Linked DNA regions of Homo sapiens: all the other regions are linked to region 3. The links are contacts of gene promoters, found by promoter capture Hi-C in human tissues and cell types (Jung and others, 2019). All regions are on one chromosome and are shown on one strand. Each heading gives the region's core, a stretch centred on a gene start or on the middle of the fragment in contact. The rest is flanking DNA. Distances are from core to core; before and after follow the strand shown.

Region 1 (4,839 bases), core at 1,393-3,892, 190 kb after region 3:
TCAACTATATATACTTAGCAGCACAGAAAGAAGGAAAAGAAGAAAAGCATGATGCTCTGGCTTCTGCTTTAGATCTTTGTGGAAAATATTCTTAATGACAGTCTAGGTAAAAGCACTTATTATAATAATTTATTTGCACTCAGCACTATATAAAGGGAAACAACAAACCAGTCAACATCATCTAAGGTCCACAATCCAGCATAATAAGCCAACATGAAATGAAGCTCTGCCAACATACTGTTCTCTTGCTTCTGGATCCATCTTTTCATCATTCTTTTTAATCAAGTTCCAGAATTTTCTTAGCTTAGGTGTCTTTTTTAATTCTAATTCCAATCGTGCCTGAAGAAGAGATGTGTTATTAAATTACCAGTAGCCTCAAAGTTTACAAGGATAAGGATTAGATCAACTATTTGCTAGTTTTCTAATATATGAGTACAAAATAGAGCAATCTGATAAAACCTGAAAATAACATGACAAACCCTGAAAATTAAGAAATGAATAACGATATTTTAAAAAATTATTCAACTCTAGCTCTTGTTAATAAAAATACAAATCAAGATTGTAAGCTCAATAATCAATTAATTTTTTATTTCAAAACTTAAAGAGCTAAGTCTGAAAAATATATGCATCAACACTTAGCATAATCACTAAGGTTTGAAAAATATGAGTCTGAAACAATGCACAAAAAACAGCGATCACAAGTAAATAAGGAAATGTCCACATCAGCATATTCTCTCTTATAGCACTTGCCACTTTTTAACTTAGTATTAATTATTTATACGTGCCTTATGTTTTCATCCCCATCAACTGGTGCTTATAAATGAGTCTGCATATCTGAGTATATGCAGAAACACCCATGTGCAGGAAGGGAAATTCTGAATAAAGCATTACAATGAAATCTGATAGTTTTAACTAAACTACCTAAGATGTATTAATTTGGCTTTGGTACCTGCACATATTACCCAATAAAGACTTTATGGAAAAATGGAAGTCATTAATATTAGGTATGATCCAGATCTTCTCCTACAGCTATATATATACTCTAATCAAGGAAAAAAAAATTCAAGTCCACATTTAGTCTCATCTATACTTTGCTAAATTAACCCCCTTTCTCTATAAGCTCAATAGATACTACCTTATTCATTTTATATTACTAAAATTAAGTTAAACATCGAATGCATATAAAAACTTTAAAATAAAAACTATATCTATGAAAAGTTAAGCAAAGTGGCTTTTCTAAGAAAAGGGGTATTTAGCTACCACTTGTATATCCAGATTAAGGCTATAGACTAAAACCACACGTTCTACTTATAACACATACATTCATAAGACTCTGAAATTAGAGACTTACCAGCTGTAAGCCCATCCACATTGGGAGGGAGATAAGCTGCTGTACTTGACTTCGTATCAAGTCTACTTCCTGTTTAGGGCATGAAGAAAATAAGTTTATAAACATACCAGCATTTCTACCTAAGTCTTTACATAAGAAGTATACTGCCTTTTTAAGTCCTGGAGGGAAAACATGCCACAAATATTTTCAAGTTAATATTTTGATATTAAGAAGTTCAATGCTTTAAAAAAGACTCCATCCTTATTATCTACAGATTTTGTACTTGCAAATTCATATACTAATAAAAATGTATTTGTAACCCCAAAATCAACACTCCATGTGCTTTCACAGTCATCCAGATGGCCCAAACAAAAATCTGAGTTGTCCGACGTGCACATTCTCAGGTGAGACTGAGCTGATGCTCTGCTTCATTCTCAGCTCTCATACTGTAAGAAACAAGTATCCTTTTTGTGGTCTATTGAGTACTATTTTTTTTGGCACGCTTGTGCTTTTTGATGATTTCGCTGTTTAAAATGGCAACAAGCCCAAGGCTGAAGTGCTGTCTGATGTTCATGGGTGCAAGAAGGCTGTGATATGTCTTACAGAGTAAATACGTATGTTAGATAAGCTTCGTTCAGGCATAATTACAGTGCTGTTGGCAGTGAGTTCATGGTTAATGAATCAATAATATACAATAAATAAGCTGTCTTTAAATAGAAACACACATAAAATAAGGCTATGTATTGATAGTTTGTAAAATGTCATGACCAAGGCTTGCAGGAACCTAACCCTGTATTTCCCCAAGGAGTAATGGTTCAGCATTAGCTCATTCAATGTTCATAGCTACTTTATAAAATGAACATAACTACCTCAAATAAGAACTGACTGCATATTTTAAAAGATAAAGCATTTCAATAATAAACTAGTTTGGTAAGTTGGCTAAAACTATCACCAAATTACTAATACTAATAAAATCTTGTTTCTGTTTAGTTTCTGATAAAAAAATCACATCTATTTATATTTCTATTTGTTCTGTTTAGTTTAATAAATGTTAAAGAGGCTTTCTGTGCCGATAACGCTCACGCAAGCATGGTTAACGTCCCTAAAACCCGCCGGACTTTCTGTAAGAAGTGTGGCAAGCACCAACCCCATAAAGTGACACAGTACAAGAAGGGCAAGGATTCTCTGTATGCCCAGGGAAAGCGGCGTTATGACAGGAAGCAGAGTGGCTATGGTGGGCAAACTAAGCCAATTTTCTGGAAAAAGGCTAAAACTACAAAGATTGTGCTAAGGCTTGAGTGCATTGAGCCCAACTGCAGATCTAAGAGAATGCTGGCTATTAAAAGATGCAAGCATTTTGAACTGGGAGGAGATAAGAAGAGAAAGGGCCAAGTGATTCAGTTCTAAGTGTCATCTTTTATTATGAAGACAATAAAATCTTGAGTTTATGTTCAAAATAAATAAATAAATAAATAAATAAATAAATAAATAAAAATAAATGTTAAAGAGATAACAGTGGTATCCAGTGCAGGCATCATAAATCTTTTTTTATGCCTTTAAAAGATCCATGTGAGATAGTACATGGAAACAGGTAATAATCATCCATCTATTAACACTCAGTCTTCAGAATAAGAAAGAACTCCATGCATTCCTCCTGCATGGGTGTAAGTGAATTATCAATTCAGAGGCACTAAATAAATATGTGTATTTATCAGCTAACCACACAGGAAAGCTCAAATAAAATATTACTGAAAATATTTAATTTTTTAGAAGATAATCTTATGAAGGATGAAAATGTATCACACACAAGACATTTTCAAAGATCATTTACACTTGGCCTTTATCAGTCAACTCAAAATACAACTCTCCTGTTGACTAACCAGCCTATGCATAAGGCATGATGAAAAGCAATGAAACTACATTCCTGTATGTATATGCAGTTTGTGGCACAGATCTCATTACTCCAATTCCATATAACCAGTCTCCTTGCTGCTTCTCATTTTTGTGCTCTCCCTTTAGAGTTTCAGTTCTTATAATCATTTTTCTTAAGAGTCTAGATAGAAAAAATTAAGTATCAATTTCAAATCTATTAAAAAGTGAACATATCTTATAAAAACATATCTTAAAGACTTATAAAATGGTTTTACTGATAAGTGGCTGAAATCAAGCTTTTAGCATTATCCTTATTGCCTGCTATTATGGATGAATGGAGTTGGCTACAGAGGTAATTTCATCTAAACTCAACCTAAAAGAACAAGAAAACTTGAAAATTACCCCAAAATATAAAGTAAAAGTACCAAACTATTGAAGCAATGATCAAGAAAAAGTAGTAAGACTGTCTGTTCATGAAGTGAAAATTCACCATCAGTTTCAGCTAATGCCGCCTTCAAGATGTGTTTAAAAAAGAATGGGAAGTGGTCTGGCTTCTTCTTAAAAATCTGAAAAGAAACAGAATAAAATTCATTTTGTATTGGCTTGCTCACTTAAGCTTTAAAGAAGCCCTAGTAGGCTTTTTAGCAGTCTATTAAAAAAACCAAATAATTACAAAAGGGTTATTTGTATATGTATAAAAGAAGCATCACGTGCTTACTTATAATTAATGGCAAGTCAAATACAGGTTTCTGACAGGACTATGAGAGAGCTGCAGAACCCTTTAGCTAATAAAATAATGGCTTTCATTTCTTTAGTTTTTCCTCTGTGGATTATGCCTGTATTTAGCTTAGGCTTTGTTTTCTTATTAAGGATCTGAAGTGTTTTAATTTCTCTGATTTAAACAAAAGAAACTACATCTTTAGCAAAAATTGTAGTTTTCACACTGTAATTAATCTCAAGAACAGCCCCTCCTGCTTTATATTAGCTCTTTACTCTTAACTTGTAAATAATGTAAATATATTCAAGCCTCTTTGACCTACCTCTGTTTCTAGTTACTGCCACAGACAAATGCTCCAAGCGTGTGGTCTATACTAGTTGTTTTCATTCACTTCTCTAAGACAAGCTCTCCTGAAGCTGTATGGCTGTCAAGTCCTATGGACCCTTATTAACTCTCAACTCCTTTTCACCATATTGAAGGCTCTTCTTCTTTTGCCTGTTATCTAAACCGCAATATTCGTAGGGTTCTAGCCTCATTCTTCTCCCTCTATTACTTCAACCACTAAATACCAATGATTCCAAATATACATCTGCAGTCCAGATTTCTCTTCTGAGCTCTCAAACCTTAGATTCCTCTACTAGATGACTTAATCTAGATATTCCAAAGGCAATTTAAACTGAATATGTCCAAATTCAATTCAACAGTTTTGTATCCTCCAAATTATTCCTCACTCTCTATTACCTATCTTGGTAAATGGCACCATCATATATTATATTCATTTGCCCAAGCCTGGAAGGTTATTGAAAATAACACCCTTTCCTAATGCTACTTCAACTGATTATCAAATTCAATCAATTCTACCTTCTACATCTCTGTATATCCTCTAAATCTGTATTATCATTTCTCTATTTCAAGGCCT
Region 2 (5,211 bases), core at 1,685-4,184, 140 kb before region 3:
TGAAATTAACTAGCACAGATTCAGACTAACACTTGCAGAAGCCCAGATTGTAAATATAAAAATGTCTCTGTTTTTAAGTTGATTAAATCTTCTTGTTCTATTCCTTAGAACTATTAAGTTGTGCCTCTCTATATTTACCTGCCTGTTTTTTAAAACACATACTTTTTTTTTTTTTTTTGCTTTGAAAGTGTGGAATAAAGGAACACTGCTAGGAAAATGAAAAAGCAGGAAAACTTAAAATATGGTTTTTTAGAAAAATATTTATGAAGCAGTTTAGCATACTAACTGCTTTAGTAAAGTGGTTAGAAGATAGATGATTGCTCATGGTTTCCAAATGGGGAAACAAGGACTCAGAAAGCTTAAATAACTTCCCAAATGTAAATCTTGTAGTGGAATCTACAATAATGTCCAATTTGTCCTCTTCTAATTCCAGTCCAGCATTTTTCTAGTACATATTCATTTTTGTTTGGTATATTCTTCAGTATTCCACAGTTTCCTGCATTGAGTTTTTATTCTGTAGTTACTTCCCTCTCTCAGCATTTTCATCCTATTCACCAGCAGAGAAAGAGGGTAGCTTTCTCGATTTCTGTTAATCTTTATCACCAATCACTTGACTGTAGTAGTAACATAAACCTCAATAGCAGAAATGAAGACAACATTTGAAAACTCAGAAAGCTCTCGCTTTTTCTACCTTCTGACCCAGTTTGCAAGAGTATATTGGTAAAAATATCTTGACATCTTTGGAATGCTGTCAAGAAACACAGAGCCCAAATGAAGTCTATATTCATTGTCTCTCACATACATTTTGCCTGTTAAAAATACATTTTGTGCAGTTTAAACCCAAAGTGTCACAGAAGTACTACATTTCTGTGACTTGAAATTCCAAAGTGAGACATTTCAATCTTCTTTAAGCTGGAAACAATTCTTATACTTGTCACCTCTTGTAGTTTATACAGGTCTCTTTTGATCCTCTTGCAGTTACTTGCTGAATATTGAAAGGGGCCTTTTTGACAAATATAAAACAGGGTTTATGTGTGCATGTTTACTTTTATAATTTTTATTTGTTGCTAGGTCCAAGAAGTCTTTTTCTCCCCTTGGCATTACTTTGATGCACCTGTTATGATCCTGCTGAAAGCTCTCTTGCTTCTTTGGAGCCCTGAGAGGAGCTTTGTAACTTTGACATTTTCACTAGCTTTTGACTAGCTGCTAAGATTTCGGCTGCTGTGGTGCAGTACAGAGGCAGCCATGTATTGGGCTGCCAAGTCTCAAACTCTTGTTTGAGAACCTCCAGACCTCACTAAAGAGGATCTGCAGAACAGAACTGTATTCTTTCACAAGGTGGTTGGTGCCAAGGCCGGGTTGGTCTTTGACAGAGCAGAAGCCAGGATGATCAATATCAGAAGCATCCTCACACATGGTTTTCAGGTCAGAAGCTGGGGTTAGGGATGAATTTTGCCAAGTATTGGATATAATGGGGGATATTTAGAAAAGGTGCCAGGCATTGAACTGATTCAAATTTCTCCCAGTATCTACTGTTTTTGTAAAAGCAAGAAATTTTGCATTGGAAATAACCTAATTAGTTTAGAAAACCAAATAAATAAGAAAATAAGCATAGCATTTTTAAAGGCTTAGCTATTTAAGCATTTAAAATACTTTCTCTCACAAAAGTTAAACCCTGTTCATGTGTACACTGGTTTTGATAAGATAATATTTAGACTGATGTTGGATTATCTTAACTGAAAGTTTTAATATAGCTTTCAGGGATACTTCATGTACTCTTGAAACTATATCACATATATTTGTATTTATATGTATGTCTGTTGATGTTTCTCTCTGTATACGTAGATACATATCCATATCTAGCTAGCTAGCTCCCATTTGCAGGTTTTGTATATTTAGTTCCAACAGCATAGAAGGGGAAAAGGAACCTAAGACCATAATATTCAGTAGTTTTACAAGCAGGATATTAAAATTCATTTGCAAGTTCTTAGTGGAATTCAGTAGCTTTTGATTATATGTATTCTACTGCAACTTTTTTTTTTTTTTTTGAAATGGAGTTTCACTCTTGTCACCCAGGCTGGAGTGCAATGGCGCAATCTCAGCTCACTGATACCTCCGCCTCCCGGGTTCAAGTGATTCTCCTGTTTCAGCCTCCTGAGTAGCTGGGATTACAGGCACCCGCCACCACGCCCGGCTAATTTTCATATTTTTTATAGAGATGGGGTTTCACCATGTTAGCCAGGCTGGTCTTGAACTCCTGACCTCAGGTGATCCGCCCACCTCAGCCTCCCGAAGTGCTGGGATTACCAGCATGAGCCACCGCACCCAGCCACAACTTAATTTTTTAACTGAATGCTGTTATATATGAGGGTAGCAAACACCTGCGGTCAAGTTTCTCTGGGCCATTTGGAATATTTCAAGAACATTATAGACATAACTTGCATTCCAATTGTTTAAAGAACTGTATGAGTCTGAATGTGGAAATTAACCATTGTTTTCAATGCTAATTTTACAAGACCAATAAGCCTGCAATAGAATGACTAGGAAGGCTACTACCTTCATTAAAGAAAGAAGCTGAATGTGGTGGCTCACACCTCTAATCCCAGCATTTTGGGAGGCCAAAGCGGGAGGATCACTTGAAGCCAGGAATTTGAAACTAGCCTGGGCAATGCAGTGAAACTCCATCTCTACAACAAAAATATGAAAAATTAGCCAGTCCTGGTGGTGCACACCTGTAGTCCCAGCTACTCAGGAGTCCTGAACCCAGGAGGTCGAGACTGTAGTGAGCCATGATTGCACCACTGCACTCCAGCCTGGAAGACAAAGTAAAGTCAGAGACCACAGCCAACCAGAGCACGCATTGCTCTTGGTGGATAAGTGAGGCAAAGCAATTTATACTGTTTACTCCTCTATTTTCCTCTCTTTCCTTGAATTCTTCTAACATTTGTATTTTTATAGCATTGTATCCACAAAATAATGATATCGATGGTGTGGTAGTGTGCTGCTCCACAGGCACATAAATCATCTGACTCAAAGAAATGAAAATCTGGACATTATGATTCCTTAGTGAGCATGATGTGATGTATCCTCCCTCCAGCTGCTGTCAATGACACCACCAGGCTCAGCTCCGGCTCCTCCGGTGCCTCCACACCATAAATGAGACTCAGTTTCTCACTTAAGACTAAAACAGTGCTTCTGTCTAGATCTGTGTTTTTCTACCATTTCAGTTTAGTTTCCACGTACATAAAATTCATTTTTTCATGAGTTAGACATATTTTATTTTTCCTAAAAGCAAGTAATTCAAATGAAACCACCTCTTTCTCCACTTCCTTCTTTGTTTGTCTACTTCTTCTTCCTTCCCTCATGCCACTCCTCCCTCCCACTTCCTCTACTTCCCCTGGAACATCATGAAACACTGTGCTTGCTGATATATTGTATTTGGTTATGTTAGGAGAGCAAAGGAGTATAACATATTGTTCCATTCCCTGGGAAGCTTACCTAGCTAGATAATATTACAAAATTTTAAGTGTTCTGATCCTCAGAAAGATGAGAGGGAGAGATCAGTAAGGCCTAGGTTAGCAAGGACAGGCTTCATTTAATAAATATTTAATGATGATTTACTGTGTGTAATTTATTTGCATGTTGACTGCCCTGCCTCCCAACCCCTCACCGTTCTGCTACTGTAAGCTCTTCATGTGCAAGTATTGTGTTTGTTTTTTCCAAAATTGTATACTGTCTACCTGTGATACTCAAGGTGGGCACTGGAAAGTATTGTTGAGTGAATGCATAAAAGAATGGCAATTGGAGAATTCTAGGTTTTGCTTCTTTCTTTCAAGGAGATGGTACTTCCGTAGGGAAGCATCACAGGAAGAATGTGATGGATTTGCTTTCAGGGAGGGAAAGGATGCACTCAGTTGGGGTCACTCATTGCTGTTTCCTATTTTGTCTAGTTTAAGAAAGGATGAATTCACCCAGCATTGAAATCAAGTGAAAGGTAATTTACTACTTAGTCATTTATGTGTTTTTATCCCAGCATCCAGCTGTTTCCTGGATCATATTTTATTACAGTTTTTATTTATAGTATGTCTTTGCAAGAAAAACATCCGGTGCAGCAGGGCTTAGCAGTTGGTGTGTAATAATGTGTATTTTAAAGCTACATAGAAGACACTTTTTGCAAGTTTCCCTAGAACAGTGAGAGTATCAAATCCCCTTCCCCATTTTTAAAGCTGTGAAGGATTTCCCTTGAGATTTATGGCTTTAGTACAATGGAAAGTGGATTAGACTTGAGGTTAGTGATCACATGTCTGAATCTTCACCCTATCACTTCTTAGCAGTGTGGACTTGGTAAATTAATTAACCTGCGTATGGCTCAGTTAAAACTTGCCTCACAAGTGAGAAGGCGTGAGAGTTAAAGGAAAAAAGATGTCAAGTGTCTGTACTAAGAACATGTATTTTTCTTTTTCCATCTCTCCAGTATAAACAATTTTTGTTCTGGAAGTCTATTATTGCAACTTAGGAAGTAATTTAAATTATTTCATCGGTGTTAATTCTGAATTTTAGCTTCATTTTAAACACTTTGTAGGAATGCCCATATCATATACCTAGTCCATTTTATTTTGTGATTTCTCCAAAACACCAAAATGCAATGCCAGCTCTCAACATATTGTTCTGTCTTTCGACAGGGATTAGAACTCTCTTGGATTATAAATGCATGGATTGCACAGAACATTTTCATGGTACATAATGGGAATGAATTGTTCTTCAAACTTATTTTAGTCCAAAAAAGAACAAATGTTACAAAAGAATCAGGATAATAGCTACATTTTTTGGAATCCTTCCTTATAGCATTTATTTTCAGTTCTTTCAGAGAAGCTCATGGAAATGCGCAGTCATGTCTGTAGATGGCATTCTTGTACCGGATGAAATAAAATGGTAATTAAGTATGCGAGATCTTTCCCAGAACAGTCAACCTGTTTAGTGTTAAGTGCATGCTTAACAATCCATGATACCCATTTTTGGAATTAGGAAATAATGCGTGGGAAGTCGAGATGTATTTTTGGGAAAAAAATAGAGATCAAATACAAACTGATGGGTTCTATAATAATTGTGGTTTTTTTTTTTTAAAGTGTCTTAGAGGAGAAAAGTTGAAAAAGGGTCAAGATGAAAGGCTTCACTTTTATTTTCTGGAAGCGTTTAATTAAACCATAGAGG
Region 3 (4,871 bases), core at 2,245-4,744:
GTGCAGCTGTGTTGCACAACAAAACTATGTAAGAAAATGAGTGAGATACACCAGTTACAAATGCTGTGGCTCAGCTAGACACTCTTGATATTAGCCAAAAAAAATCTTTTTAATGTTAACCAAAGTCCACAAGCTGGAAGGCAGAAATATCCTGAAGCTCGTAACCGTGTGCCTAACTGTGCAACAACAATCTCACAAAAGTGTTGTAGTTGCATATTGCAATTCCCTCCCTCCCACCCATCCCCCATCCCTAGTAAACAGCACCAGTGCAGTTTGAGTTAGAAAACTGGAAATATTGAGACATTCCTAAGGTTTTCATCACGACTAAGGGCCAGTCAGATGGGGCTCTAATGAAAACCTCTGCCATGGCCGTTCTCCAATAAGCACCCCATGTAATTCCCTCTAAGTTTGCAAATAAAACATATTAGGTCTAATGTAAGGCCAGATTCTGGAAAAAAAAAAAAAAAAAAAAAAAAAGCTGGCATGCTATTTTGGATTGAGGGAAAGGGGCATGCTGGTGGGGGAGATACATGAAGAGTGCCTCAAGGATGTTTGTCCCATGGCTCAGGATAAAGGGATGGGTTGAGATAGGTCACAAATTTTATATCAATGAAGTACTCAACTCACACCATTCACCAGAATAAAGAGCTCAGCAGGGCTAAGTCCTACTTGGTAGCTGTGCAAGTTCAGTGTTATCAGGATCAGGCTAGGCCATAAACAGAAAGGGACCAAAGAAGTCTAATTGATCCATTTCATCACTCTACCCAATCGTCTCTGTAGAACCAATTAGGTGATATGTGAAAATGGGTCCACTTTTCCTCCTTTCCCATTGGTGCAAAATCTTCTTTTATCCAGTCTTATCCTACATCTTAATGGTGAGGGTCACATAAATGAGGGTGGATACAGCCACGTCTGAGCAGTCATCTGCCTTGGGGCTCCTTGCCATCCCCCAGACCTTCATGAAACCTGCCCTCTCACACATAGGCAGAGTCACTGGACTGAGTCCTGCCAAAATTGGGAACACTGACCCTTGGCAGGTCCTTGTTACGAATCTCATAGATTGACTTTCTCTTGGCCTGAGCCCCTCGCACAGCCAGCTTGATCTTGCGCCATCCCAGGTGGTTGAGTTCAGCCAGGTTGAGCACAACACAGATGCCACTTACAGCAAACATGAACACTAGAAAGACAGTCTTCTCAGTTGGCCGGGACACATAACATTCCACCTCCTTGATGCAGGGGTAGCGGTTACACTCATACAACCCTGGGACACTAAAGCCATAGAGAAAATATTGGCCAACCAGGAACCCAATTTCCAGGGCATTTCGGAACACCACTTGGATAATGTAGAAGCGGGAGATGCCTTCCTGCCTTCTGAGCTTGGATTTTGATGCAGTGCGTAGACCTGATGGGTGTGGAGTCAGCTCCTTAACCTCTAAACAATCTGGCTCTGTCTCCTTACTGGTGTTCTCTGTGTTCTGCAGCACCCCATTCACAATAGCATTTTGCAACTTCTTATCTTCTCGTTTGCCCCCACCACTGCCCCCACCCCCAGTTCCTCCAGGACCTCCTATGGACTCAGGGGGGTCTCTGTCCAGGGCTAGGAAGACTGTAGAGTAGCGGCGTTCTCGCTGCTTGGCGGACTGGTGCACAGAGTAGGTGATGAAGCAAAGACTGGGGGTACACACCATTATGATCTGGAAGACCCAGTAACGTATGTGGGAGATGGGGAAGGCGCGGTCATAGCAGGCCTGGTTACAGCCGGGCTGCAGGGTGTTGCACACAAACATGGTCTGCTCATCATCGTACACCGTCTCCCCCACAATGGCCACAATGAGGATCCGGAAGATCACCACCACAGTCAACAGGATCCTGAACGGAGGAAGAGGGAGGGAGAGAGGTTCTCACGGGCTGCGTCACTGACAGGAAACCCCTGCTCCTCCCTTCCCTTTGCTGGTGTTTACCAGTCTTTTGACTGGGGAGCTGTCCATCCCGGGCTGGTACTGAACTAGGAATCTGGGAAAGCTTTTTGTCTCTTCCTTTTCTGCTGAGTGCTGGTAGGCTGGGAATATTTCATATTATAGAGATCCCAGGTACACACATCTCCATACACTGGACATAGTCTACTTGCAACAGATAGATTTCATCTCTCTATATAGAATGTATAGAAACACAAAACACACCTTCACTCTGGATATGGCAAATGCACACAGAATACCTTTACAGATGGTGCATGCTTCGAGGTCTACACACAGGGTGTGTAAATAACTACTCCATGTGTATATTTAGTTTATTCTCAACATGAATATTAAATTTAATGCTTTATATAAGCAGATGGCTATGAATATATATTCATATATATTGAACTCATATATATATAAAGCTAGGTAGATAGAGACATAGATATAGATACAGACCCAAAAATGGCAATTGGGTGTGTAGGCTCGGTAAGTTTACACCGCCAAATAAGTTTGGTTTAGTAATTATTTGTTGAGAAAAGAGGCATCTGCTCTGAAGAGCAAATCCATCTCCCCATTTGCCCTTTTCTGTCCAAATGCAATCCTGCCTTCTTTGTAGATTCTATTTAGGGAACCAAATGGAGATTGGCTCTGACTCTGGAGAGTGGAGGGACCAAGACTGAGCCAGCGGCTCCTTTTCTGATGTGGGAAGAGTGAAGCCCCAGTGGTGCTTGATGGGGAAGGGATGGGCAGCTGGTTAGGAGTAGCTAGAGGAGGGGGGCATCGCGGGGCGTCGGGTAATCCCTCATCGCCGGGAACACCGGAGCCTTGACCTAGGACGATGGGGAGGAGGCAGAGGACGGACTGGGGATTGGAGCGGGAGACTCAGTCCAGGTGTGAGAAGGGACTCCCGGGGGCCGCCCGACGGGGCCCCCTGACCGCCGGCTTGGCGCCCTTACCTCCCGATCATAGTGGAGTGCTGCTGCACCGCGGCTTCTAGCAGCCTCTCCAAGATGGTCCATTCCCCCATCGCTGTGCATCCGGAGGCAGCAGACAAAGACTGGGCAGCACCGGGCACGTTCCCGCTCCTGGCCCCTCCCCGGGCCGCACTTCCAGAATGGGAGTGAATTGCCTCCCAATTAAAGAAGCAATTTTTTAAAAAATCCTCGAATCCCCCTTTCCTTTTATTGTACTTAAAAGAGAAGAAATGGGGAAAGAAATCCAAGCGCGTCCCGACCGATGGGGCAGTTGGCGCGGTCTAGAGAGAGGGCACGAACCTCGGGCGCCGTCCGGGGTTCGGGTCTGGATCCCGCGGACGCCGGGACGAGGGGCGGGGCGGGGTGGCAGCCTGCAGGTCCTCCAGCGCTCGCCCGCCCAGGAGAAGTCTCAGCGCCGCTCTCCGCCGCAGGTTGGGGGCCAGGGGAGGGTCCGAACACCGGCTCTGTTCCTGCTACTTCAGCGGGCACCTGGCGCTCCGGCGCGGCAGCCTGCGAGGCCAGGGCCGAGCGCGCGGAGCCGAATGCTGGGCTCGGGGATCCGCGGCCGCCGCCTCTAATCCGCCCTTAAGTAGTCTCCGCCTGCGTCACGCCAGGTCGGCGGAGGGGAGCAGAGCGCGCCGTGCGGCTGTCGCTGCGCGTCGGAGCCCGAGGGGCCGGGGACGCGCGCGGGGGGAGAGGGGCAAGAGTCCTGGAGGCCCGGCGGGGAGCGGGGCGATTTCGAAAGGAAGGACTGCAGCGCCCCTCGGGGCTTCTCGGGGAGCCCAGGTAACCTCACCTGACCGCCAGACCCAAGCAGGCGGAGGGGGAGCCGGGAGCGGACGCGTGGGTGAGTGGGGAGGGGAGTGAGTAGGTATCTTCTCTTCTCTCGGTGCATCCCTCACCTTTTCGCTTTTTGCCTCCTGGAGACAACTGAAATTCCTTCCCTAGATGGAGATGCTGGCTGAGGGAGGGCGAGTGGGGGCGACCACTTTTAAATCTCCCTTAGGGGACAGAGTGGCTGAGAGTGCTTCTGCAGAGTGGCTGCGGTTCGGTGCCTCTGTGGATCCGACAGTGAAGTGAGAAAGGCTTGATGGGAATCCATTTAGGCTGAAGGGTAAATGCAGGTGTGGAGCTGTCTCTCGGTATAGGGGTCAGGGCACACGAGCGCATCTAACAGGTGCCTCGCAAAGAGCAAGTGGGGTGGCCATGGTTAAAGGTCTCGCTTCCCCTTGCACTAACCCAGATGCTCGGCTCTTTTTAAATTATTGCTATTATTTTACTAATGGGAAGGGGGGGCGGGGTACTCGTCAGGTAAACTGTGATTTAATCTGAATTTAAGACCCAGTATTCTGCTAGCAGAAACAGAGCCACTCACAGCCTCGCCCTGCCCCCACTTGCCTTACTGGGTTTGGCTTTCTCCCCTCAACCAGCAGATCCCGGTTTTTAAAATTCACATTGTGTTGTCAGTTCTGTCTAGAGCAACTACTTAATTGGTTGCTGAAAAATTGAAACAACCTCACTAAGCTGCTAATTAGCCCAGGGGTCAGTATTAGGAGACACTGTAGCTGGCAGTGTTTGATGTAAATGTACCAAAAGTCCAATGGGAAAGTAATTGTCATCCTTTCGAAAACACGACCTTGAAAGGGTTGCTAACTTGTCCTAGGCATATAAAGGGACCTAGCCTTAATTATCCACAGGGATCATAGCACATATGTATATTACATAAGCCACACCATGGTGAGCCTTCACTTCTGGAACAACCGAGGTGGTTGGGTAGTTGGTGGCCCAGGGACTGGGAAGAAAGGTGCAGGGCATGGCCCTCAGTCCACTCACAGTGTACTTCTTCATAAAATGATGTTTAAACACACGGTCTAAGCTTCGCCGCCAGAAAGATCACTGAAATCCTCTGCTAGGGTTGACATCTTTACCCCAAGAAAGC
Region 4 (4,925 bases), core at 465-2,964, 130 kb after region 3:
AGAGGCGAGCAGATAACTTGAGGTCAGGAGTTCGAGACCAGCCTGGCCAACATGGTGAAACCCTGTCTCTACTAAAAATACAAAAATTAGCTGGGCATGGTGGTGTGCACCTGTAATCCCAGCTGCTCGGAAGCTGAGGCAGGAGAATCGCCTGAACCTGGGAGGTGGAGGTTGCAGTGAGCCAAGATCATGCCACTGCACTCCAGCCTGGGCAACAGGGCAAGACTCCGTCTCAAAAAAAAACAAAAAAACAAAAAAACAAAAGATTTGAATATTTCACATTTACTTCAAAAAAAAACTAAACTAAATTAAAAACCACTAAAGGGAAGTTCAAAGAACTTGAGAATCCTTACCTCAAGCTGCGTAAAGATTTTCTTAATATGCCTGAAACATCCTTCAGCAATTTCCATGTCTTCTTCATAAGATCTTCCTTTAAAAATGGGTTGAGGAGCATTTGCAAAGTATTCATGGAAAGGGAAGAAAGTGGAGACTTCCGTAACATCTGGCAATGTACTACCTTTATTTTTCACTTTGCTGATATACTCTTCCCAGCGAGACATTACCTGTAGAAAAAAGGACTTGAAGTTAACTGCCAGCTAATTATGATGTTTTAAAGCATAAAATGAATAAATCTTATAAAAACAAGATCTGCTAGGTGAAAAAGAAAAAAAAAGAAATTCAATCTTTGATCCAATATAACTATTCTTCATTCCTGTAACTGACAGATTGCTCTTCTGTTATAAAAGTAACCTTGTCTTTGGAGAAAAAAAGGCTCTTTAATAACAAATTTCTACAAACTGGAAAGAGCCTTAACATCATCTCATAGAACTCTAACTCCGACAGTTCAGATTCTCCACGTAACTCAAGAGAGTTTATTATTAACGCTTAAAAGAAATGTAAAGGAAAGAAAGCTCTCTGGACAAAGAAATTGCTCATTTTTTTCATCTCTGTTTCTCTCCATATATGGTAAGTTCAGCTTTAGCAGCTTTTTAATCAATTTGGCACTTGTCAACCCTCTGTCAGTTTTTTAGAACATTTATAAAGAACGTCTGGTTAAGCTGAGTGTGTATTTGAAAGCTTATCTTATGACTTTTGTGATTATAGTTCAATTACTTTGTATAATGTTAGCTATGCGTCTACCAGCCAGTTACTATGTAACCTCAATTTCTGTAACTCTCCCAGGTCTTTTTCTGTTACTATCTCAGTGTTTCTCAAAAGTGTAGTCCTTATGCAAAATATCTGAGGAGCTAAATAAAAATGTGGATTCCTGGATTCCACCTCTATTGAATGAGAAGCTATAGGAACAAGGGCTAGGGAATTTAACTCGTAAACAACTTTCCTGATATGATTCTTAAATGTTGAAAACTGCCAATTTACACTGTGAAGCCTCAAGTTCATTCTTCCCAAATTTATTACATAAACCTTCTTAATTTATAGGTTATTTTTCCCACTTTTAAACATTATTTTCACTGAAAGCCAAGTAATTTTGTGTCAAAAAAGCATTTAAGCTGATCTTTACTCCTTTATGCAAGTCCTAAACAGTCTTGAATCTAATGTAGACTATATTATGTATTTTCCCTGCTTCACAAGAAACCATGAAAGCTGCTCATTTTGAATGGACTTAATTGGTTTGTGATATCCACTTACAATGAGCTTACAATATTATAATTTATATCTAAAATATACAATTGGCATTAGAACAAAGAGAACAAATGAAGTTATACAAAAATCTTCATTAGCCAATTATGTCCTAGTCCATTTAAAATTATTAATAATCCAACTGACTATTAAAGTTTAGTTTTATTCACTTTATTTGGCTATTTCTCATTGGTTTTCACACTTCCAAAATTTACCCTAACAAAAGTAAAAGTACATCTTTATGTTGAAGTCAGAAGCCTTTAACTTCAAGACCCACTGTGCAATTAGTTGTAAGACATAATTTATTTCTGGAAATTTGAAGGAAGAATGTTTTCCTTCATTAGTTGATTAATGTATACAATAAAAGTTAACTGTACTTTGTTGCCACTGGCTAGCTAGAATATTTATTTAGTTGTATTTCTACAGTAAAAAAAGAAAAAAGAGTGACTAGAACTTTGCCAATAGAAAGAAAAAAATGTAAAAAGTAGCAACATTGGTCTTTCACAGAATGAGTCATCAAGCAAAGTTATTTAGAAAAGAAAACTGAAGATAATACAAAATACACTTAACATTCATAAATATAGCACTTGCAATACCATACATTCTAATCTACTCAAAAAAATAAGCTTTCATGAAGGATCACAAGAACTCATTCCAGCTTCCAACTGGGGTTCATATTATGATGAAGTATGATTCAAAAACCCTTAATATCTTACCTGGTATAAGAAGAAATAGCCTGCAGTTTCACAGGTATATGAGGCATCTCCTGGAACCCCTAGACTCTTTTGCAATCGTTTGACTTCTTCTAAAAGTTCTATTCTTCGAGCCAGAACATAATTAACTCTTCCATACCTAGACATTTCAATTAGGCAAAATGACAAAACTGTAATAAAGAGACTTTGAAGGAAACAATCAGCAAAATTCAAGAAAATCATAATAGCAAAGAAGAGGAAAAAAAACTAGAAGATATGGCTTCTATTTAACTATTGGTGGTAGTTCTTGGGTTACTTTACACAAAAGCTACTTAAAGTAGGTGGGTCACGGTGGTTCACGCCTGTAATCCCAACACTTCGGGGAGGCTGAGGCGGACAGATCATGAGGTTAGGAGATCGAGACCATCATGGCTAACATGGTGAAACCCTGTCTCTACTAAAAATACAAAAAAATTAGCCGGGCATGGTGGCGGGCACCTGTAGTCCCAGCTACTTGGGAGGCCGAGGCAAGAGAATGGCGTGAACCTGGGAGGCGGAGCTTGCAGTGAGCAGAGATGGCGCCACTGCACTCCAGCCTGGGCGACAAAGCAAGACTCCGTCTCAAAAAAAAAAAAGAAAAAGCTACTTAGAGTATACTCCATGGAACAGTATTGATCTGCAAGGGTGTTACTGGTCTAGGAGGAGGGAAAGTCAACTACATCACCAAATACACCATTTAGTTCAGCTCTCAATCTTTCTTTTCACAGCAAGACACTTTCACAAAGAAGAAAGCAGGACAGTGCATTCTGGTGCTAGTTCATTTCATCACAGACCAAGAACATGTAAGTTCACAAACTGGCTGCTTCAAACAGCACTGTTTTACACTACATAAAAGTAGATTAGATCTAAAGGCTTTGAAAAGTAATTTTTAAATGTTTTTGATTATCTCTGTCATCTACATATCCCAATACATAACTTGGCACCCAAACCTAGCAGGTTCTTAATGTTTGCTGAATCAGTAAGAAAACTGAAGTTTGGAGAGTACCTTGTCCGAAAACACACAGTTAGGGAAGAAAGTAGTGGAACCAGAATTAGATCCCAAATTCTATGCACATTCTTTTCACAACACCACAACAACAAAGGGTCTCCCATAACCCTTTAATGCTTAAAATAAGACTAAAATAATTTAATCAATCACTGTTGTTCCCATGTTTAAAGACTCAACAAAAGAAGAAGTCATGTTCCTAGCTGTCTGTAGTTCAGAGATTCACATTTGAGGTAGCAAGGGATGATTAAGAACAAAAAAGAGATCTAAAACATGATCTATGCTTGAAGAATTTTTCAACTTGGAAGGATATAAACATATGGCAGATAACTTTTTTCTGCTTGCTTATCTATAAACTTTTATCTACAATGAACACTTCGTTAATGAGAAAAAAATCAGGAATGCTTACAGACTCTGTTAATAAAATGCCAAAATTTTTGTGAAGTAATGTTAAACTTAAAAAGCAACAGGCCGGGCACGGTGGCTCACGCCTGTAATCCCAGCACTTTGGGAGGCCGAGGCAGGCAGATCACTTGAGGTCAGGAGTTCAAGACTAGCCTGGCCAACATGGCAAAACCCCGTCTCTACTAAAAATACAAACATTAGCCAGGTGTGGTGGTGGGCGCCTGTAATCCCAGCTACTCAGGAGGCTGAGGCATGAGAATCCCTTGAACCCAGGAGACAGAGTTTACAGTGAACCGAGATCATACCACTACACTCCAGCCTGGGTGACAGAGTGAGACTCTGTCCCAATAAATAAATAAATAAATAAATAAAAGCAATATACAGTACAATTAAACTCTACTATCTGCTCAATTAGTACATTATTACACTTAAAAGATAAAGAATTATTTTTAAAAAGCAACATAAGGCTGGGCGCGGTGGCACACGCCTGTAATCCTAGCACTTTGGGAGGCCAAGATGGATTGCCTGAGCTCAGGAGTTCAAGACCAGCCTGGGCAACATGGTGAAACCCCGTCTCTACTAAAATACAAAAAAAATCAGCCAGGCTTGGTGGTGGGTACCTGTAATCCCAGCTACTCACGAGACTGAGGCAGGAGAATTGCTTGAACCCAGGAAGCGGAGGTTGCAGTGAGCTGAGACGGTGCCACTGCACTCCAGCCTGGGCAACAAAGTGAAACTCTGTCTCAAAAAAACAAAAAAAGCAACATAAAAATTACAAATAACAGCATTACAGAAAAAGACTAGCAAAAAGTTGTTTTAGGATAGTGTAATTATGGATAACCACTCCTTCTCTACAACTTCACCAGATTTTACAATTTTTTTCTTCAGAGAAAGTGATGCTACTTTTATTGTGAAACAATAGTCATAATTTTTCTTTTTAATTGTAAGAGAAAAAGAATATGTCCAATCAAATATGCAAACTAACAATATCTAGGTTATGTGTCAGAATTTAAAAGTACATTTTTTCTAACAAATTTGGTGGTACCTGAAATCATTGTAAAAATTCTACCCCTATTCTAATATTCTTTAAAAACCATAAATTCGACTTCAATATAATTGTAATTATAGTCAAATATTCTATTAGC
Region 5 (4,635 bases), core at 100-2,599, 150 kb after region 3:
GTATAGTATTGGTCATATCTTGTTGATACTGGTTTGGATCCAAAAACACTCTAAATGTCCTTGATTCTCCTCTAAGATTGGGTCTGGGTTCAGGTCCTGGACAATTTGAAAAAGTTTGTTAAATAAAATATGTATTTTTCAAATATCAAAATAAGTTAACAGTATTTCTTTTCTAGAAATGGTGAGTAAATGGTTCAGGCTTAACTCCAACCATTCTTCCCAAAGTAGAATGCCCTCCACTCACCCACTTCAAATTCTAAGATGCTGAAAGTATTTTCTTCTTTCTCTAAATTCTTACTATTTCCTTCCATAGCAGTCATGTAATGTTTACGATGCAACACCATGACTTGCAATAATTTGTACACACACTCAACTAAAATAGGAGTACTTAGAAGTCAAAGAACTTATCTTTACTTTTGTCACTCATAGCTCCCACTACTGCCTTACATATAGTAAGTATTCAATAAATATTTTCTAATTAAATATATGTATTTTAGAATTTAAGGCATAGTTTTCTATTCATTAATTCCTTAATTTGACAGAGGTTCATCACTTTTCTCATCCTTCCACATTCCATACCTAGTATAACCAGCATGAAAAGAAATTTCACATACACAGAAATGTAGGATACTAATGGTTGAAAGCCCAGAGCCTTTTCTTTCCTCTCTGACATATCTCCTCTTTTTTGGGGGGGGTGGGGGGAAGGGGGGGTCTTAGACCTCGAACTTTGGTTCCATTATGTGGCCTTATGCTTATTCCATCCATTTTCCATTCCCTTCTCCTATTTCCTCTCATTCTAGAGATAAATAACTTAATCATCAGCAGTTTAGCAATGATATAATCTCTAAACCACAGATAGCATAAACTGACTAAAGTTTCAAAAGAAGTACAACAACCAAATTGTAAAATAAGCACTAGACATGTATGCAGTTGTAATTTAATAATAAGTATTATAAAGGAAGTCAGGACAACAGAAGAAAGAATTTCAAAGGGATAATAAGTGATACACATAAGAAATCAAATAACTGACTAATTTTGTAAAGCAGTGTTTTTAAATGCGGTAAAGTTGGCATCTTATGCAGGATAATTCCTTCTTTTATTTCTGTTCAGATGTTTAGCATCCTTGGCTCACAGTTACCTAATGCCAAGAGCCTGCCATTCCTCACCTCTATCCCGGTCATTTGAAAACCTAAATATCACTATGCATTTTCAAACGCAGGACAGTATTGTTCCCAATTAAGAACCACCACTACAATGAATTAAAATAGTCAAATTTAAGAAGAAAAAATATATCATTGAACACAAAAAAGCTTGGACAACTGTAAGAGATATTTAGAGTGTTTCTTAAAAAAAATATGGTAAAGTATTACATATTTTAAAAAGCTTTGAATAAAGATGATTTCAAAAGATCCTGTCCCAGAGTTCGAGACCAGCCTGGCCAACATGGTGAAACTCTGTCTCTACTAAAAATACAAAAATTAGCCAGGCGCGGTGGCAGGCACCTGTAATCCCAGCTACTGGGGTGGCTGAGGCAGAATTGCTTGAACTTGGGAGGCAGAGGTTGCAGTGGGCCAAGATCGCGCCACTGCACTCCAGCCTGGTTGACAGAGCAAAACTCCGTCTTGGGGGGAAAAAAAGAAAAAGATCCTGTCCTTTCCAATATCTAACATAGAAGTTCTGAAACTGTCTGGGTGTGGTGGCGGCTCATGTCTGTAATCCCAGCACTTTGGGAGGCCGAGGCAAGTGGAGTGCTTGATCTCAGGAGTTTGAGACCAGCCTGGGCAACATGGGGAAACCCCATCTCTACAAAAATTAACCGGGCATGGTCGCACGTGCCTATGGTCCCAGCTACTAGCAGGGCTGAGGCTGGAGAATCGCATGAACCCAGGAGGCAGAGGTTGCAGTGAGCCGAGATTGTGCCACTGAACTCCAGCCTGTGTGACACAGTGAGAAACCATGTTACCTATATCTAAAACTGCACGGTAGGTACCCTACACATATTTGATACAAAATCCTTTGTGTCAATTTAGTAGGTAAAAGAACTAAAAAATATTACCTAAGAAGCAAAAAGGGAAAAAGGCAAAGAAATTTATCATTCTATACACATACTCTTTCAAAAATATAGGTCACCATACCATCTTCAATGACACGTCCTTTATCATCCAGCATGCCCTGAATTTCACAGCCTCTGACATAAACCAGGCCAACCTGCTCAATAAAAGGTCTCCTCCGGTCAAACTTAGTGCCATAAGGTTTTGTGGGACGTACGGTAATTAAAAAGCATACATCATGCTTACGAAGACCTGGTAAGATATAAAGACATTTTCATTTATTAGAATTTCATTGTTTTCAGTCTTTTGTAGGCAAATTCTTATTTGCCTCTCTACCTCTTATCTTTGGTAGAGAGATACCGTTGAGTGACCAATGATTATTATCGCATTGTAACACAATTATGGGCTTTTCTATAATCTTTAATACTCAATATTTCATAGCATTAATTGAAATGAAAACTTCTTTATATTAAAATTAGAAACATTCATGCCATGAATATATTACTGAATAAGCCCTCCAAGTCATGCTACAGCTCCAAAATTGGATGTTCGTCATCATTCTTATTTTTAACAATCTTAATAAGTAACCAAAAATATGGCTGGCATATAATCCATCTATAGCATATTTAGCAGGTTTTTAATATCAGTTTAAACTATCTATCAGTGTCATTCCAAAGACAGCCTAATTGTATTTCACTAAAACAGGTCAACTCAAGAATAATTAATCAAGGCAAAAAAGTATTGTTTACAGGTATGATCTTGAGAAAGATGGCTGAATATATACAGTTTCAGTTGGCAAATCGTGAACATTTTTATAAGTGAATGTCAAGAAAAAGGAGACTTGTGCCAGAGTCCACAGCTTCTTGGTCACTAGACCCAATAAAGAACTCAAATGGCTTCCCAGCTCTATTAAAAGTAGAGAAACTGGAAGACAAGGATTATAAAATTAGACCTCACAGCATGTAATGCTACACCACTTAATCTTCATTCCATTTCTGATGTTTTTGTTAGCCATTACATGACATAAATGTAAATGTAAACAGTCTGCTTGCTCACAACCTTGTTAACAACAAACACAATGAAATCAAATCAACAATGTGGGCATATGGCTAATAGTACTGAAAATATTTTGGTTTGTTTTAATTGGGGGACTGGTTAGAGTATGGGTAAAGGTAGAAATAATAACTCTATTCATAATACTGACTTAATTATTTCCCAATAAATTCTATGCAAAGCAGCAAGAGAAGTAATGAGAATGAATGGGAATCATCCTACTCTCTGAGTTGTACTACCTGTGTGATGTCTGATCTGCACAGCTCATTAAAACTTCTAAGTCTTACAGCCAAAGAAGTGGTCCTGAGAAGTCATTTATCCTCTCCCAAGATAGGAGTTACTTTTTGGCATCACTGAGGGATGACCTCTTGTTCCTTCCTAAAACAAACCACTTTACTCTGGGACATCTTAGATCCACATTTTTTAAAATCCTATATGTCTCTCTCCTTGCAACCATTTGTATCCACCCTATCCTAGCTGTGCTTTCTGGAGCAAATCTGGCATTTCCATTTCATGAATTCTGTTTCCTTAACTTTAAATGAGAATATTGAAGAAGATAAGGGCTTGAGGTTCACACCTTTTCAAAGGGACAAAAGGAATGTTTTATGGTATTTAGTTTAATAATCTTTAAAATTTACTTTTATAAAACAATATTCAGCTGGGCACGGTGGCTCACGCCTGTAATCCCAGCACTTTAGGAAGCTGAGGCAGGTGGATCACAAGACCAGCCTGGCCAAGATGGTGAAACCCCGTCTCTACTAAAAATACAAAAAATTAGCTGGGCGTGGTGGCGGGTGCCTGTAATCCCAGCTACTCGGGAGGCTGAGGCAGAGAATTGTTTGAACCCAGGAGGTGGAGGTTGCAGTGAGCCGAGATTGTGCCACTGCCCTCCAGACTGGGCGACAGAGTGAGACTCCGTCTAAAAAAAAAAAAAATGTATTATTGTTTACAGAATCTCTCCTTTTTACTCCATTTTCTATTTGGCTACCCTATCTGTGATCAATATAGGGGCTGGTTTTTGGCCCAGGCCTCCCATAAAACACTTTTCTCTCCATCATACCCCAGATTATCACTCATCCCACAATACCCTATTGTGCCCTATCTTGCCCATCAAAATGTACCCTGTCCAGTTCTCATTCTACCAGAGGCTGATGTTTAAAAGAAAAAAAGACTGTCTCATGTCCTTCTGAAAGCAGTCAGTAATGGGGGAAGTGGCCTGTTTTTAAACATCCTTTTGTTTTCCTTAACACCAAAATGCAGACCTCTCATCTATAAATTCCTATAGAGTCCTTTAAAATAAACAAAATTCCAACTATCTACTACTTCTGGGGGTACCCAGTAAGTTATCTCAGTTTATTACCCACAGTGTTTAATATCTCCTTAAGCTTCAAGGAATAATAAATATGAGACCTTCTCCAGCAACTTAATGGCTTTCTCGAGGCTCAGCAATAATAAAGGTGCACATTAGTCTAGATGAGTAATATACCAGGATGGAACTCTTTTGAAGGATACAAGGGTTATAAAACAATCT
Region 6 (4,860 bases), core at 2,036-4,535, 170 kb after region 3:
GAAGATGAGGCACGAGAATCACTTGAACCTGGGAGGCAGAGGTTGCAGTGAGCTGAGATCACGCCACTGCACTCCAGCCTGGGCGACAGAGAGAGACTCGGTATCAAAAAAACAAAACAAACAAACAAACAAAAAAACAAAAAAAGAAGAAGAATTCCTGAAAAAAATCCTCATTTCTTTCTATTGCAAAGAGTTATTATTAATTCCAAAAACCTTACTCATGAGAGGTTTTACATTGTCAGAAAATAGCACAGGAATTTTTAGGAACTGAAAGAGACAATGAAAGTGATTTGCATATAAATAGTTGCTAATAGAATGATTCATCCAGAAAGTAGTTCGAAGAGATAAAATACTTGAGTAAAGAAATTCGAAAGATGAGAAAACAAAAAATCAAATGATAATACAATTCCAAAAACAAAATGGGAATTATCTGCCTAATCTTTGGCCCACAAAAAAATCTATATGAACCTACATCTTTAAGAATGACTTTAAAAGGCAAGGAAAACCACATGCAAAATTCAGAGAACATTAATATTTACCAGCAATTCTAGAAGAAATTCTTTATCAAAAGTTGTGTCTTCATTTTTAGGAAGAGTTGGCAACAAGCAGAGGTATGATGCCACCTGGTGGAGTGTGTTTGAACTGCAGAATAGAGAACAATATTTTATTCATAGTAACTTACTTCACTTCACTTTTGAAACATGTATTTTTACAAATAGCTTAAAAAAGCAAATATAATACTATGACATGGGCAGCAAATATCAAAAACCAGCAATGAAAATTAAGGCTTTAGTGCAGGGTTCTCAAAATATTTTCTGCAAACCTCTCATTGTACCCAAGATCCTTCTGGGCAGTCCCCAAGAACACTTTTAAATATTAATACCGGCAGGGCAAGGTGGCTCAGGCCTGTAATCTCAGCACTTTGGGAGGCCGAGGCAGGCAGATCCCGGGGTCAGGAGATCGAGACTATGCTGGCTAACATGGTGAAATTCCGTCTCTACTAAAAATACAAAAAATTAGCCGGGCGTGGTGGCGGGCGCCTGTAGTCCCAGCTACTCGGGAGGCTGAGGCAGGAAAATGGCGTGAACCCGGGAGGCGGAGCTTGCAGTGAGCCGAGATCGCGCCACTGTACTCCAGCCTGGGCGACAAAGCGAGACTCCGTCTCAAAAATAATAACAATAATAATAACAATACTAAGACATTGTTTCACAGTTTTATTTAAGAATGTCCTTGATGAAGCAGTAAAAAAAAATTAATACTATTAAATTTGGACTCGAGTACCTGTTTTATTTTAAATTCTGTGACAAAATGGGAAGTACATATTTTGCACACAACTTTTACTTTAAAAAACAACAAACTGTTGGACCGGGTGCAGTGTCTCACACCTGTAATCCCAGTACTTTGAGGCCGAGGTGGGCGGATCACAAGGTCAGGAGTTTGAGATCAGCCTGGACAATATGGTGAAACCCCGTCTCTACTAAAAATACGAAAATTAGCCAGGCGTGGTGGTGAGCGCCTGTAGTCCCAGCTACTCAGGAGGCTGAGGCAGGAGAATCGCTTAAACCCAGGAGGCAGAGGTTGCAGTGAGCCGAGATTGCACCACTGCACTCCAGCCTGGGCAAAAGAGCGAGACTCCATCTCAAAAAAAAAAAAAAAAAAAATGACAAACTGTTTATACCAGCCTTGGACAAATGGCCAATTTTTTTTCAAATTTCAAATTTTGAATGAAATAAGACTATAATTTCAAGGAAAACAACTATCAGTATTTGCTGTCAATGATAAAATTTGAACTTCCATGTGAACGTGAAAAATTAGAATTTTGGAAAACTGGTATTTGCCACCATGAGCTTCATAGCTTTCCACTATTTAACTGGTTTCATCACCTCCCCAAAATCCCTTATGCTAATTTATAGCAAATCCTCCTCTCCATCCCAGCCCAGCAACCATAATCAGTTTTCTATTTGTAATTTTATCTTTTCCAGGAGGTCAAATAAATGGAATCACACATTAGGTAGTCTTTTTTCTTGCTTGTTTTTTGAGACGAGTCTCACTCTGTTGCCCAGACTGGAGTGCAGTGGCATGATCTCAGCTCACTGTTACCTCCACCTCCCGGGCTTAAGCAATCCTCCCACCTCAGCCTCCCGAATAGGTGGAACCACAGGTGCCCACCACCACACTCGGCTAAATTTTTGTATTTTTGGTAGAGACGAGGTTTCACCATGTTGCCCAGGCTGGTCTCAAACTCCTAAGCTCAAGTGATCTGCCTGCCTTGGCCTCCCAAAGTGCTGGGATTACAGGTGTGAGCCACCATGCCTGGTCTTAGGTAGGTAGCCTTTTGAATGGCTGCTTTTACTTAGCATAATGCATTTGAGCATTTGAGATTCACCCACACTGTATATTTATCTGTAGTTGGTTCCTTTACGTTGCTGAGCAGTATTTCATGATACGGCTGTATCACAGTATGTTTATTCATTCAACAGTTGTGGGATATTTGTGTAGTCCAGTTTTTGACGATTTTGAATAAAGCAACTATATTCATTTTTGTACATATTTTTGTGTGAACATAAGTTTTCACTTTTCTTGAATATATCTGTAAGTGGAAAATACTGGATCATAATGTTAAGTTCATGTTTACCTTTATAAGAAACTCAAATTTTTCCAAAGTGGCTATCCCACTTTGAATTCCCACCAGCAATTATGAGAATTCCAATTGCTCCACATCCTTGCCAAGAGTCAATATTATCCGTTTTGGGGTTGTTTTTTGTTTTTTTGGTTTTGTTGAGACAGGGTCTTACTCTGTCATCCAGGCTGAAGTACAGTGGCAAGATATAGCTCACTGCGGCCTCGATCTCCTGGGCTCAAGCAATCCTCCTATCTCAGCCTCCTGAGTAGCTGGGATTACAAGCATGTGCCACCACGCCTGGCTAATTGTTTTGATTTTTAGTAGACAAGTCATCCTTCCACCTCAGCCTCCCAAAGTGCTGGAATCACAGACGTGAACCATTGTGCCTGGCCTTATCCATTAAAAAAAAAACAAATTCTAATAGGTATGTAGTATCTTCTTATGGTTTAAATTTGCATTTCCCCAATGACTAAACATGTTAAGCATCTTTCCATGGGCTTATTGACATCTATCTACCTACTTTGGTCAAGTGTCTGTTCAAATCTTTTGTCACCTGTAAATTGTTTTATTATTATAGGAGTCCCCCCTTATCTGTGGTTTCACTTTCCCTAATATCAGTTACTCATGGTTGACCAGAGTCTGGAAATAGTTAAGTATAGTAGAATAAGATATCTTGAGAGAGAGACCACATTCGCATAACTTTTATTATAGTATATTGTTATAACTGTTCTCTTATTATTATTGTTGTTAATCTCTTACTGTGCCTACTTCATAGCTTTATCATAGGTTTTTACATTACATGTAAAAACACAGTATATATAGGGTTCAGTACAATCTACAGTTTCAGGCATCCACTGGGGTTCTGGAACACATCCCCTGCGGAAAGTAGGGGGCTGCTGTATTGAGTTCTGAGATTTCTGGATTCTATTCCTTCATCAAATACCCATTTAGCCAATATTTTCTCCTAGGCTGTAGCGTGTTTTTTAATTCTCTTATCAATGTCTTTCAAAGAGCAGAAGTCTCTTAGTTTTGATCAAGTCCAATTCATCATTTTTTTTTCCATTATGGATTGTGCTTTGGTGTCTATAGAAATCTTTGCACAAACCCACGATCACAAAAATTTTCTCCCATACTTCCTAGAAGTTTTAATTTTGACATTTAGGTCTATAATCCGATTTGAGTTAATTTATGTATATGATGCAAGGTATGGGTCAATGTTCATACTTTGCATATAGATATCTAATTGTTTCAGCACCATTGATGAAATCCTTTCTCTACTGAGTTGCCTTGACACATTAGTCAAAACTCAACTAACCATATAGGTATGGTCTATTTCTGGACTCTAATCTATTCCATTGATCTATACATCTATCCATGTATCAATACCATAATGTCTTGATTACTATAGCTTTACTGCAAGTTTTGAAATTAGTAGAAATCTTCCAACTTTGTTCTGTTACAAAATGGTTTGGGTTATTATAGTTCCTTTGCCTTTCCATGTTATTTTTAAAATAAGTTTGTCAATTTCTATAAAATATCCTGCTAGAATTATGATTGGAATTAAAATATATCTATAGATTAATTTGGGAAGGATTCACACCTTGGGTCCTCTTATCCATAAGCAAGACCTAGCTTCTAATTTTTCAGATTAATTCATTTTAATTGTACAGACTTCCTTACATGGTTTCAGATTCTACTCTGAAACTAATTTTTAAAGAAACTACCACTTGTCAAGTTTTCATAGAGTATTAAAGAAGAACATTCCCAATTATTTGATAAAGCTTATCAAAATACACTTCCCTCTGTGTAAGGCCAAATTTTCTTAATTTACTTCAACCAAAACAATATCTCACAACAAACTGAATCCAGAAGGAGATCTGCAAATCTGTCTTCAATTAAATCAGTCACAAAAATGTAAAACAATGACACTCTTTTAATGGTGCATTTTTTTCATTTTGGAGAATATGTTTTTCATTAGCAATACATATGGCTAACATATAATAGATTTCAATCAATATACTTTTTTTTTTTTTTGAGACAGAGTCTCACTCTGTTGCCCAGGCTGGAGTGCAGTGGCACGATCTTGGCTCACTGCAACCTCCACCTCCCAAGTTCAAGCCATTCTCTTGCCCCAGCCTCCCAAGTAGCTGGGATTACAGGCGTGCACCACCACACGTGGCTAATTTTTGTATTTTTAGTAAGATGGGGTTTCACCATGTTCGCCAGGCTGGTCTCGA

The links. The method cuts DNA at HindIII sites, captures the fragments that hold promoters and counts their contacts. A contact is called where the count stands out against the background at its distance.
Region 1: a contact is called between a fragment that was not itself captured here and the fragment with the promoter of GJD2 in region 3, in 4 of the 25 tissues and cell types used here (IMR-90 fibroblasts, heart left ventricle, mesendoderm cells and 1 more).
Region 2: a fragment that was not itself captured here is called in contact with the fragment with the promoter of GJD2 in region 3 in 4 of the 25 tissues and cell types used here (H1 embryonic stem cells, dorsolateral prefrontal cortex, mesenchymal stem cells and 1 more).
Region 4: a contact is called between a fragment that was not itself captured here and the fragment with the promoter of GJD2 in region 3, in 6 of the 25 tissues and cell types used here (IMR-90 fibroblasts, adrenal gland, bladder and 3 more).
Region 5: a fragment that was not itself captured here is called in contact with the fragment with the promoter of GJD2 in region 3 in 4 of the 25 tissues and cell types used here (IMR-90 fibroblasts, mesenchymal stem cells, mesendoderm cells and 1 more).
Region 6: a contact is called between a fragment that was not itself captured here and the fragment with the promoter of GJD2 in region 3, in 2 of the 25 tissues and cell types used here (IMR-90 fibroblasts and aorta).

The regions. Positions count from the first base shown.
Region 1 is chr15:34,940,661-34,945,499 of GRCh38, forward strand. It overlaps AQR (aquarius intron-binding spliceosomal factor), which reads right to left. Exons shown (of 35, transcript NM_014691.3): 6 at 3,628-3,768; 7 at 1,352-1,420; 8 at 239-339. It also overlaps the pseudogene RPL36AP8. Among named protein-coding and RNA genes, the nearest start is that of AQR, 27 kb to the right of the region's middle. The HindIII fragment of the contact is 3,772 bases long and covers 757-4,528 here.
Region 2 is chr15:34,616,978-34,622,188 of GRCh38, forward strand. No RefSeq gene overlaps it. Among named protein-coding and RNA genes, the nearest start is that of GOLGA8B, 36 kb to the left of the region's middle. The HindIII fragment of the contact is 5,582 bases long and covers 144-5,211 here.
Region 3 is chr15:34,751,504-34,756,374 of GRCh38, forward strand. GJD2 (gap junction protein delta 2) reads right to left here and starts at 3,495. Exons shown (of 2, transcript NM_020660.3): 1 at 2,915-3,495; 2 at 1-1,869. The coding sequence starts at 2,985. The coding sequence ends at 975. It overlaps GJD2-DT (GJD2 divergent transcript), which reads left to right and starts at 3,581. Exons shown (of 3, transcript NR_120329.1): 1 at 3,581-3,718. The HindIII fragment of the contact is 7,022 bases long and covers 1-4,871 here.
Region 4 is chr15:34,884,172-34,889,096 of GRCh38, forward strand. It overlaps AQR (aquarius intron-binding spliceosomal factor), which reads right to left. Exons shown (of 35, transcript NM_014691.3): 25 at 2,355-2,490; 26 at 354-563. Among named protein-coding and RNA genes, the nearest start is that of AQR, 83 kb to the right of the region's middle. The HindIII fragment of the contact is 4,312 bases long and covers 1-3,870 here.
Region 5 is chr15:34,904,410-34,909,044 of GRCh38, forward strand. AQR (aquarius intron-binding spliceosomal factor) reads right to left here. Exons shown (of 35, transcript NM_014691.3): 18 at 2,136-2,303; 19 at 1-96. Among named protein-coding and RNA genes, the nearest start is that of AQR, 63 kb to the right of the region's middle. The HindIII fragment of the contact is 3,174 bases long and covers 1-2,936 here.
Region 6 is chr15:34,919,793-34,924,652 of GRCh38, forward strand. It overlaps AQR (aquarius intron-binding spliceosomal factor), which reads right to left. Exons shown (of 35, transcript NM_014691.3): 14 at 540-642. Among named protein-coding and RNA genes, the nearest start is that of AQR, 48 kb to the right of the region's middle. The HindIII fragment of the contact is 7,298 bases long and covers 1-4,860 here.